Regions from separate parts of the Homo sapiens genome. Here region 2 is linked to region 1. The links are contacts of gene promoters, found by promoter capture Hi-C in human tissues and cell types (Jung and others, 2019). All regions are on one chromosome and are shown on one strand. The core of a region is centred on a gene start or on the middle of the fragment in contact, and the rest is flanking DNA. Distances in the headings are between cores, read along the strand shown.

What was found. The method cuts DNA at HindIII sites, captures the fragments that hold promoters and counts their contacts. A contact is called where the count stands out against the background at its distance.
Region 2: a contact is called between a fragment that was not itself captured here and the fragment with the promoter of ESPL1 in region 1, in 2 of the 25 tissues and cell types used here (mesenchymal stem cells and neural progenitor cells).

Annotation. Positions count from the first base shown.
Region 1 is chr12:53,265,820-53,271,600 of GRCh38, forward strand. It overlaps ESPL1 (extra spindle pole bodies like 1, separase), which reads left to right and starts at 2,480. Exons shown (of 31, transcript NM_012291.5): 1 at 2,480-2,558; 2 at 2,936-3,028; 3 at 3,205-4,266; 4 at 4,559-4,663; 5 at 4,859-4,979. The coding sequence starts at 2,948. RefSeq lists enhancers at 2,417-2,786, 2,847-2,926. The HindIII fragment of the contact is 10,197 bases long and covers 1-3,665 here.
Region 2 is chr12:53,136,300-53,142,080 of GRCh38, forward strand. It overlaps the pseudogene RNU6-333P and the pseudogene HIGD1AP1. Among named protein-coding and RNA genes, the nearest start is that of SOAT2, 36 kb to the left of the region's middle. The HindIII fragment of the contact is 5,451 bases long and covers 1-4,914 here.

The DNA.
Region 1 (5,781 bases), core at 1,230-3,729:
AGGCTTGATGTTACTGTCCCCATTTCACTGAGAAGGAACAAATTAGAACTGGCACTAGAACCTGGCTCCTCTGTCCTGTCTCATTTTCAAAGCTCTTTCCATCATCCTGTGCTGCCTCTATAAGTTTGTGATTCACATGAGGAAATAATGTGACTCAAGTTCGTATTAGTCAGCATTTATTGATCTGTTGATACTTAAAGTACTTCTTGTAAGAAGTAGAAAATAAAAAAGAAAAAAGAAAACAAAAGCAAAACAAAAAACAAACAAACAAGAAATAAAAAATAATAAGCTCTCTGCCCTTGAGGAGTTTAGAATTAAGTAGGTATGATAGGCTGGGCATGGCCAGGCACGGTGGCTCATGCTTGTAATCCCGGCATTTTGGGAGGCTGAGGCAGGTGGATCACTTGAGGTCAGGAGTTTGAGACCAGCCTGGCCAACATGGTGAAACTCCGTCCCTACTAAAAATACAAAACATTAGCTGGGCATGGTGATGGGTGCCTGTAATCCCAGCTACTTGGGAGGCTGAGGCAGGAGAATCACTTGAACCCGGAGGCAGAGGTTGCAGTGAGCTGAGATCACGCCATTGCACTCTAGCCTGGGTGACAAGAGCGAAACTCCGTCTCAAAAAAAAAAAAAAAAAAAGGCTGGGCATAGTGGCTCACGCCTGTAATTGTAGCACATTGAGAGGCTAAGGCCGGAGGATCACTTGAGCTCAGGAGTTCAAGACCAACCTGGGCATCATAGTGAGACCTCGTTTCTATCTTAAAAAAAGAAGAAAAAAGTAGGTATAATAAAATACGTTGGGAAAAAGTCCTAGAATGCTTGCTAAACAATAGGTAAATGAACACTGATAGCTAAGGTGTAAGCAAGAGGAATTGAGTACTGTGATGAATAATTTTCTTTTGGGTTTTTTTTGTTTGTTTGTTTGTTTTTTGGTTTTTTTTTTTTTGAGACAGAGTCGTCTCGCTCTGTAGCCCAGGCTGGAGTGCAGTGGCGCGATCTTGGCTCACTGCAAGCTCCGCTTCCCGGGTTCACGCCGTTCTCCTAGCGCAGCCTCCCGAGTAGCTGGGACTACAGGAGCCTGCAACCACGCCCGGCTAATTTTTTGTATTTTTAGTAGAGACGGGGTTTCACCATGTTGGCCAGGATTGTCTCGATCTCCTGACCTCGTGATCCGCCCGCCTCGGTCTCTCAAAGTGCTGGGATTACAGGCGTGAGCCACCGCGCCCGGCCTTTTTTTTGGTTTTCTTTTTTGAGACAGAGTCTTGCTCTGTCACCCAGACTGCAGTACAGTGGCGGGATCTCAGCTCACTGCAACCTCCGCTTCCCGGGTTCAAGCGATCCTCCCAAGTAGCTGGGACTACAGGCCCCCGATGCCACAGCAGCTAATTTTTGTATTTTTAGTAGAGATGGGGTTTCACCATGTTGGTCAGGCTGGTTCTCAAGTGATCCACCCACCTCGGCCTCCTAAAGTGCTGGGATTATAGGCGTGAGCCACCGCGCCCGGCCTTCTTTTCTTTCTTTTTACAAAAATAATCTTCCCTGCTAGATTCTCAACTCATAAAAGAGCTCTATGATGATGGAGAAGGATGAGTTATCCAGTAGAGTTCATCAGCGACAAGCTGATAACCACTTTTGAGCTGAATTCTTTGGTGGAGGAAGGAAAGAGACAGCTGAATCTGTGTTTGGGGAAGTGGTTAGTACTTAAAAACATAAGCCATTAAAGACTGTGAAATATCCCAGGGAATGAATTTCCATAGTTCTTCCTGCTACTCACAACTCCCACCCCACCCCACTACCCTCTCTCCCCCATCGAAGAGCACCAGATCTTGTCTTTCTCATACAACCAATAGAAGGAGTAAGGCTGGAAGGCAGAGAGAGAGCTGGAGGTCGCTACGGGTACTCATTGTAGTTCCCCTAGAAAACCATCTTTAAAATAATTTCGTAGGAAGTTGGGCGTGGCGGTGCACGCCCGTAGTCAGCACTTTGGGAGGCTGAGGTGGGAGGATCACTTAAGCCCGGGAGTTTGAAGCTGCAGTGAGCTGTGATCACGCCACTGCACTCCAGCCTGTGTGTCAGAGCAAGACCCTATCAAAAAAAAAATTCGTAGAAGTCTAAGCCCTTTTTTTCTAGTAACCCAAACCGCGTGAGTTCCTAAGTTCTTTTTGTTATTTCTCTTCTCTTGAAACTTAAACTCTTGCCTGAGCTCTGAAGATAAAGGAGGAAAAGGGGTGGCATTACCGATAGCGACTAAGCGACAGGTAGCTGAGAAACTGAGCTCTGACTGGAAAAAAGGGGGAAACCCGCACCCCCAAGAGGCCCTAACGCGCAGAGCAGCAAGACCCTCCGGGGCGCCGCGGGAGCGCGCAGCGCGGCGGGTAAACTACAACTCCCAGCGTGCCGCGCGCCCGGCGTTGCGCCGCGCCCGCTGATTGGCAGCCGCGGATATTTGAAAGGAGGGTCTGGCGCGGAAAACGAAGGTTACATTTTGGATCCTCGCGGAGTACTGGTCAGGCGGTTAAGTCCTGTACCTAGGAAAGAGGGCGAGCTCTGGGGCGGTAAGGCCGGAAGGGACTCGTGAGCGTGGGTACGTGCTGAAGTGAAGGGGATCCCCAGCGCTGACGCGAGGAGAGGCGTGGGTGGCTCCTGGAGGGAGTGTCGGGAGGCCTTGGGACTGCCCCGGGCCGCTGAAGGGCTGGGCCGAGGCCTCTGGGGTAGCGCGGCGAGTGGTGTGGTAGTGCGGTCGGGGATCTGCCCGGAGGAAGGAAGAGCGGAATCGTCCTTTTATAACGGGAGCACGGCGTCCTGGCGTGGGTTTTCTCCCCGATGAAATTTCTGATGTGATTCTTTGCCTCCTTCCACGACCTTCAGCCCTCTTCCCTTCCTCCAGTTAGCTTCATTAACAATCTTCTCTAATTGGTCTCCTTTTCCCTAGCTCTCCGGTGTCATGAGGAGCTTCAAAAGAGTCAACTTTGGGACTCTGCTAAGCAGCCAGAAGGAGGCTGAAGAGTTGCTGCCCGCCTTGAAGGTGGGGGTGCTGCCTGGCTCGGGATACACCTGGCTTTCCAAACTGAGCTGTTTTGTGTTTGCCTTTTGAAGAGATGGATAAGTAGGCGACCCTCTCTGAGTAACCCTATTTCTAGTTACTTTCTCTACCTCTTTCCTGCCTTTGCTAGCCCCATTCATATCTTTCTCTACTCCTAGGAGTTCCTGTCCAACCCTCCAGCTGGTTTTCCCAGCAGCCGATCTGATGCTGAGAGGAGACAAGCTTGTGATGCCATCCTGAGGGCTTGCAACCAGCAGCTGACTGCTAAGCTAGCTTGCCCTAGGCATCTGGGGAGCCTGCTGGAGCTGGCAGAGCTGGCCTGTGATGGCTACTTAGTGTCTACCCCACAGCGTCCTCCCCTCTACCTGGAACGAATTCTCTTTGTCTTACTGCGGAATGCTGCTGCACAAGGAAGCCCAGAGGCCACACTCCGCCTTGCTCAGCCCCTCCATGCCTGCTTGGTGCAGTGCTCTCGCGAGGCTGCTCCCCAGGACTATGAGGCCGTGGCTCGGGGCAGCTTTTCTCTGCTTTGGAAGGGGGCAGAAGCCCTGTTGGAACGGCGAGCTGCATTTGCAGCTCGGCTGAAGGCCTTGAGCTTCCTAGTACTCTTGGAGGATGAAAGTACCCCTTGTGAGGTTCCTCACTTTGCTTCTCCAACAGCCTGTCGAGCGGTAGCTGCCCATCAGCTATTTGATGCCAGTGGCCATGGTCTAAATGAAGCAGATGCTGATTTCCTAGATGACCTGCTCTCCAGGCACGTGATCAGAGCCTTGGTGGGTGAGAGAGGGAGCTCTTCTGGGCTTCTTTCTCCCCAGAGGGCCCTCTGCCTCTTGGAGCTCACCTTGGAACACTGCCGTCGCTTTTGCTGGAGCCGCCACCATGACAAAGCCATCAGCGCAGTGGAGAAGGCTCACAGTTACCTAAGGAACACCAATCTAGCCCCTAGCCTTCAGCTATGTCAGCTGGGGGTTAAGCTGCTGCAGGTTGGGGAGGAAGGACCTCAGGCAGTGGCCAAGCTTCTGATCAAGGCATCAGCTGTCCTGAGCAAGAGTATGGAGGCACCATCACCCCCACTTCGGGCATTGTATGAGAGCTGCCAGTTCTTCCTTTCAGGCCTGGAACGAGGCACCAAGAGGCGCTATAGACTTGATGCCATTCTGAGCCTCTTTGCTTTTCTTGGAGGGTACTGCTCTCTTCTGCAGCAGCTGCGGGATGATGGTGTGAGTTAAGGACCTGGAGGTAGGGTGGGGACGTGGTCTGTGGACTCACTACCAGCCTAGGGTATTTGGCAAGATCTGGAGGTCCTGGCTCCCTCCTTGTTAAGCTGCTCTCTGGACAGTGCCTAGCGAGCCAGCAAACAGCCTAGTCTATCCTGAGAGGGCAGTGGCCCTTCTGGATGTCCTTCCTCGTGCTCCCTGGGCTCTGTCAGCTCTCCAGGACTCCGGGTCAGTCTTCAGCTTGGAGCCCTCTTTATCTCTACTCCTCATACCAACCTTCCGCTTCCTTCCTCAGGTGTATGGGGGCTCCTCCAAGCAACAGCAGTCTTTTCTTCAGATGTACTTTCAGGGACTTCACCTCTACACTGTGGTGGTTTATGACTTTGCCCAAGGCTGTCAGGTACTGTCTGGGAATCAAGGTACCTGGACTAGGCTCATAGGGTTTGGGGTTGCTCCACTGCCCTCAAACAGCTTTGGGGTTGCTCCACTGCCCTCAAACAGCTTTGGGGTTGCTTGGCTTTGGGTGTGGAGTGCGGTGGAGGTCATCTTGGACCCAGCATGACTCCTCACTCTCAAACCCTTCTTGTCCCTTCAGATAGTTGATTTGGCTGACCTGACCCAACTAGTGGACAGTTGTAAATCTACCGTTGTCTGGATGCTGGAGGCCTTAGAGGGCCTGTCGGGCCAAGAGCTGACGGACCACATGGGGATGACCGGTTAGTGCCCTGGGTCCCAGGCACAGAGTTTGTGGGAGGGTCATCACCCATTAGGCAGGTGAATAGTACTTGCTGCGTGGTTCTGACCACTGTGAGGGTTCCTTATGGTTCAAGGAGGCAGTGAGAGAAATGTTTATAAGTACCAGCTACTCTGTGTTTAACACCAGTAGAGAAGTGATGAAGCTAACTTACAACAGCAGACACTATTTCCTCGACTGGAATCTAACTTGGCATTAACAGTTGCACCTAATATGCAACCTTATGACCTTTCAACATATTTTTTTATTTCTATATTTTTTAATGTTTTTTTTTCCTTTTCTTCACTTATCAGAATCCAGAAATCATTACAAATGACCTTTCTGTATATTTAAGTGTTTTTTTTTTTTTTTTTTTGAGACAAGGTCTTGCTCTGTCACCTAGGCTGGAGTGCACTGGCACAATCACGGCTCAACACAGTCTCAACCTCCCAGGCTCAAGCGATCCTCCCACCTCAGCCCCGCAACGAGCTCACCTTGCAGGTTCAAGCGACTCTCCTGCCTCAGCCTCCCAAGTAGCTGGGACTGCAGGCGCGCACCACTATGCCTGGCTAATTTTTGTATTTTTTGTAGAGATGATGTCTGGCCATATTGTCCAGGCTGGTCTTGAACTCCTGGACTCGAGTGATCTGCCCACCTTGGCTTCCCTGAAACCCTGTCTCTACTAAAAATAGAAAACTAGCCAGGCAAGGTGGTGCATGCCTGTAATCCCAGCTACTTGGTAGGCTGAGGCAGGAGAGTCGCTTGAACCTGCAAGGTGGAGGTTG
Region 2 (5,781 bases), core at 939-3,438, 130 kb before region 1:
AAAATAGAGACAAAGTCTCACTATGCTGCCCAGGCTGGTCTTAAACACCTGGACTCAAGTGATCCACCCACTTCCACCTCCCAAAGTGCTGGGATTACAGATGTAAGCCCCCATGCCCAGCTGTATATGAAATAAATTTCATTTTCTTACCTAATTGCCATGGACAGAACCTGCAGTACAGTGTTGAATAGAAGCACAGAGAGTGGACATTCTTGTCTTGTTCTTGATCTCAGAGGGAAAACATTTAGACTTTCATCATTAGGTGTGACATTAGCAGAGGGTTTTTGTAGCTACCCTTTATCAGGTTGAGAAAAATCCCCTTCTATATCTAGTTTGTTGAGGTTTTTTTTTTCTTTTCTTTTTTTTTTATTTTTGAGATAGAGTCTCACTCTGTCGCTCAGGTTGGAGTGCAGTGGCGCGATCTCAGCTCACTGCAACCTCCACCTCCTGGGTTCAAGTGATTCTCCTGCCTCAGCCTCCCAAGTAGCTGGGATTACAGGTGCCCGTCACCATGCCCAGCTAATTTTTTTTTTTTTTTGTATTTTTAGTAGAGACAGGGTTTCACCATCCCAGCCAAGCTGTGTGTATTGAGGTCATCAACAGACCACATTGAAATGTGGGTTTTGTCCTCTGTTCTATTGATATGGCATAATACATTAATTGATTTTGGATGTCAAACCAACCTTGCATTTCTGATACAAATCCTACTTTGTCATGGTATATAACTCTTTTTTTTTTTTTTGAGACAGACTCTCACTCTGTTGCCAGGCTGGTGTATGGTGGCACGATCTTGGCTCACTGCAATCTCCGCCTCCTGGGTCAAGCTATTCTCCTGCCTCAGCCTCCCTAGTAGCTGGGAGTACAGGTGCATGCCACCATGTCCAGCTAATTTTTGTATTTTTAGTAGAGACAGGGTTTCACCGTGTTAGCCATGATGGTCTCAATCTCTTGACCTCATGATCCGCCTGCCTCGGCCTCCCAAAGTGCTAAGATTACAGGTGTAAGCCACTGTGCCTGGCCAACCCTTTTTATATGTTGCTGAATTTGGTTGGCTAGTTCAGGATTTTTGCATCTAAATTCATAAGACATATTGGTATATAATTTTCTTCTGATGTTTTTGTATTGTTTTGGTATCAGGATTAATACTGCCCTCATAGGATGAGTTTAGAAGTATTCTCTCTTCTGTTATTTGGAAGAATTTGTGAAGAATTGGTGTTAAGTCTTTAATGTTTTGTAAAATTCACCATTAAAGCCTTCACTTTTCTTTGTGAAATGCTTTTAGATTACTTATCCAATTACTCTTTCTCTTTTTATTATAGGTCTATTCAGAATTTATATTTCTTCTTGAATCAATTTCAGTAGTTTGTGATTTTCTAGGTATTTGTCTATTTCATCTAAGGTATCTAATTTGTTGGCATAGTCATTTATAGTATACCCTTATAACCTTCCTTATTTTTGAAAGGTCAGTAGTAATGCTCCCTCTTTCATTCCTGAGTTTAGTTAATTTGAATCTTCTCCATTTTTTGTTTCTGTTCTTGTTTTAGAGAGACAGGATCTCACTCAGTCACCCAGGCTGGAGTGCGGTAGTGTGATTGTAGCTCACTGTAACTTTGAACTCCTGGGCTCAAGCAATCCTCCTGCCTCAGCCTCCCAGGTAGCTAGGACTACAGGTACATGTCATCATAACTGGCTAATTTTTTTTATTTTTCATTTTTTTGGAGCGATGGGGTCTCTCTATATATAGATAGATAGATAGATAGATAGATAGATAGATAGATATAGATATATAAATATATATAAATATATATATATATATTTTTTTTTTTTTTTTTTTTTTTTTTTTTTTTTGAGACAGAGTTTCACTCTGTCATCCAGGCTGGAGAGCAGTGATGCGATCTTGGCTCACTGCAACCTCCACAACCTCCACCTCCCAGGTTCAAGTGATCTTCCCACCTCAGCCTCCAGAATAGCTGGGATTGCAAGCAGGTGTCACCACATCCGACTAAATTTTTTTTTTTTGTATTTTTAGTAGAGACAGTGTTTCACCATGTTGGCCAGGCTGGTCTCAAACTCCTGACCTCAAGTGATCCACCTGCCTTGGCCTCCCAAATATATATATATATGTTATTATACATATATATAAATGTCATGAAATATATATACATATACTTTTTTATAGGTATATATATTTTAAATTTTATAATTTAGATATATTTACATATATTTTCTTAATTTAAAAATTTTTAAAAATATGGAACACTTCAAAAATTTGCACATCATCCTTGTGCAGGGGCCATGCTAATCTTCTCTGTATTGTTCCAATTTTAGTATATGTGCTGCCAAAGAGAGCACACTGAGGCTGGTCTTGAACTCCTGGCCTCAAGTGATCTTCCCACCTTGGCCTCCCAGAGGACTGGGATTACAGATGTGAGCCACCATACCCAGCCTTTCTCTGTTTTTTTCTTAATCAGTCTAGCCTTGTTGATCTTTTCAAAGGACCAACTATTCATTTTGTTGATTTTCTTTAGTGTTTTTCTGTTGCCTGTTTCATTAATTTAAACTCTAATATACGTTATTTCCTTCATTCTTCTTGCTTTAGGTTTAGTTTGCTCTTTTTCCAGTGTCTTAGGGTAGAAGTTTAGTTAATTGATTTGAGATCTCTCTACTTTTCAAATATAGGTGTTTACAGTTGTAGATTTTTTTTTTTTTTTGTATATGCTCCCATGAGGTTGAGAAAGTTGCCTTCTACCCCCCAAGTCAGCCAAACTGCAAGGTCTAAGAACCCAGTCCTCCACAATACTGTCCTTACTTCTGATATTAGCTTCAAGTTTGGGGTTTTCCCAAAACCACCCTCCGGTCGAACAATTCACTGAGGAAGTGACAGAACTCAGGCTAGATGTGGTGGCTCATGCCTGTAATCCCAGCACTTTAGGAGGCCGAGGAGGTTTTAGATTTTTCTTCTTCAGGAGTTCGAGACCAGCCTGGCCAACATGGTGAAATCCCATCTCTACTAAAAATACAAAAATTAGCCAGGTATGGTGGCGCATGCCTGTAGTCCCAGCTACTTGGGAGGCTGAGGCAGGAGAATTGCTTGAACCTGGGAGGTGAAGCAGTGAGCCGAGATCGATCGTGCCATTGCACTCCAGCCTGGGCGACAGAGTGTGACTCCATCTCAAAAAAAAAGAAGTGACAGAACTCAGTGAAAGCTAGCTATTATTCTCAAGGTCACAGTTTATTCCAGAGAAAGGATACTCTAAAATCAGCCATGGGAAGGGGCACATAGAGCAGAGTCTAGGAGGATTCCAAATGCAAAGCTTTCATTGTCATCAGGAGATGTTATCCTCTCAGCATCGATGTGTGAAAGTGCACACAGAGTGTTGCAAATCCAGGAAGCTCGTCCTAACTTCAGTGTCCAGAGTTTTTATTGGAGTTTTCATTATACAGGCATGATGGTGGTTGAACTCAGTCTCCCATCTCCCTCCCCTATCCCTGGAAGTTAGGCCAGTATCATGGTGAGATCCATCAAGGAGCCCATCATGAGTCACCTCATTAGCATAAACTATCAGATGTAATCTTAGGGGCCCACTTGAATAACAAAGAAATAAACTTTTTATTAAGAGACAGGGTCTCAGTCTGTTACTCAGGCTGGAGTGCAGTGGTGTGATCAGAGTTTACTGCAGCCTCAAACTTCTGGGCTCAAGTGATCCTCCCACCTCAGCATCCTGAGTAGCTGGGTGCACACCACAGTGCCCAGCTTGAGAAATATTCTTACCACTTGGGGAATTCCATGGGTTTAGAGGCTACCTCTCAGGAGCCAGGGACAATGGCCAGGCCTTTCCTTGGGCAAGGCCAAATTCTTCACACTTTCTATTCCTAGTCAGCTGAATTTTGCTTTTTTGTTTTGTTTTGTTTTGCTTTGTTTTGTTTTGTTTTGTTTGAGACAGAGTGCTGCTCTGTTGCCCAGACTGGAGTGCAGTAGTGCAATAATAGCTCACTGCAGACTTGACCTCCTGGGCTCAAGCAATCGTCCCATCTTAGCCCCCAGAGTAGCTGGGACTATAGACTTACACCACCACACACTGTTAATTTAAAAAAATTTTTTTGGTAGAGATGAGATCTCACTACATTGCCCAGGCTGGTCTTGAACTCCTTGTCTTAAGTGATCCTTCCACCTCGGCCTCCCAAAGTGCTGGGATTACAGGTGCGAGCCACTGCCTGGCCAGCTGAATGTTTTTACATGTTTAATATTTCTTATCTGAAATGCTTGGGACCAGAAGTGTTTTGGATTTCAGACTTTTTTTGGATTTTGGAATATTTGCATTATACTTTATATGAGCATCCCTAATCAGAAAATCAAAATTCTGAAATGCTACAATAAGCATTTCCTTTGAGTGTCATGTCAGTACTCAAAAAGTTTCAGATTTTCAGACCAGTCAGGGTATGATAAGAAAAAAATACGTTTCAAATGTCAGAGCATTTCAGATTTTGGATTTTGCATTAGGGATGTTCAACCTACATTAGGAATGGATATTGGGGCCGGGCACAGTGGCTCATGCCTGTAATCCCAGCACTTTGGGAGGCCGAGGTGGGTGGATCACCTGACGTCAGGAGTTTGTAGAACAGCCTGGCCAACATGGTGAAACCACATCTCTATAAAAATACAAAAATCAGCCAGGTGTGGTAGCACGCACCTGTAATCCCAACTACTCGGGAGGCTGAAGCAGGAGAATCACTTGAACCCAGGAGGTTGCAGTGAGCCGAGATCATGACACTGCACTCCAGCCTGGGTGACAGAGCAAGACTCCGTCTCAAAAAAAAAAAAAAAAAAAACAGGAATGGGTATTGGATTTTATTAAATGTCTTTTCTGCATCTATTGAGAGGATAATGCAAATTTTAGTTTTTAGTCTGTTAATATTCTGAAAGGAAAATAAATCTTAGGACACCCAACACACTACACCAAAGGGAAAAGTCAAGCTGGGAACTGGGTCAGGCAAAACTGTCTCCCATTTTGTTCCTAAATAAGATAGCTACAAAGATTTTAAAAGCTACATACTGGCAGGGCGCGGTGGCTCACGCCTGTAATCCCAGCACTTTCAGAGGTCAGGAGTTTGAGACCAGCCTGGCCAACATGGTGAAACCCCATCTCTACTAAAAATACAAACATTGGCCGGGCATGGTGGTGGGCGCCTGTAATCCCTGCTACAAAGGAGGCTGAGGCAGGAGAATATCTTGAACCCGGGAGGTGGATGTTGCAGTGAGCAGAGATTGTGCCACTGCATTCCAGCCTGGGCAACAGAGCAAGACTCTGTCTCAAAAAAAAAAAAAAAAAAAAAAAAAAAAGGCCGGGTGCGTGGCTCACGCCTGTAATCCCAGCACTTTGGGAGGCTGAGGCGGGCGGATCATGAGGTCAGGAGATCGAGACCATTCTGGCTAACACGGTGAAACCCTGTCTCTACTAAAAAAAAATACAAAAAATTTAGCCGGGCGTGGTGGCGGGCGCCTGTAGTCCCAGCTACTCGGGAGGCTGAGGCAGGAGAATGGCGTGAACCCGGGAGACGGAGTTTGCAGTCAGCTGAGATTGCACCACTGCACTCCAGCCTGGGCAACAGTGAGTCTCTGTCTCAAAAAAAAAAAAAGAAAAAAAAAAAAAAAAAGCAAGAAGCCCGGAGGACTGGGTGCGCGTGCAGGGATCGGAAGCCGGTTGGAGTGTGTGAGGTTTTCTCGCTCTAGGGAGATTCTTCAAGCAATCACTATGTCAACAGACACAGGTGTTTCCCTTC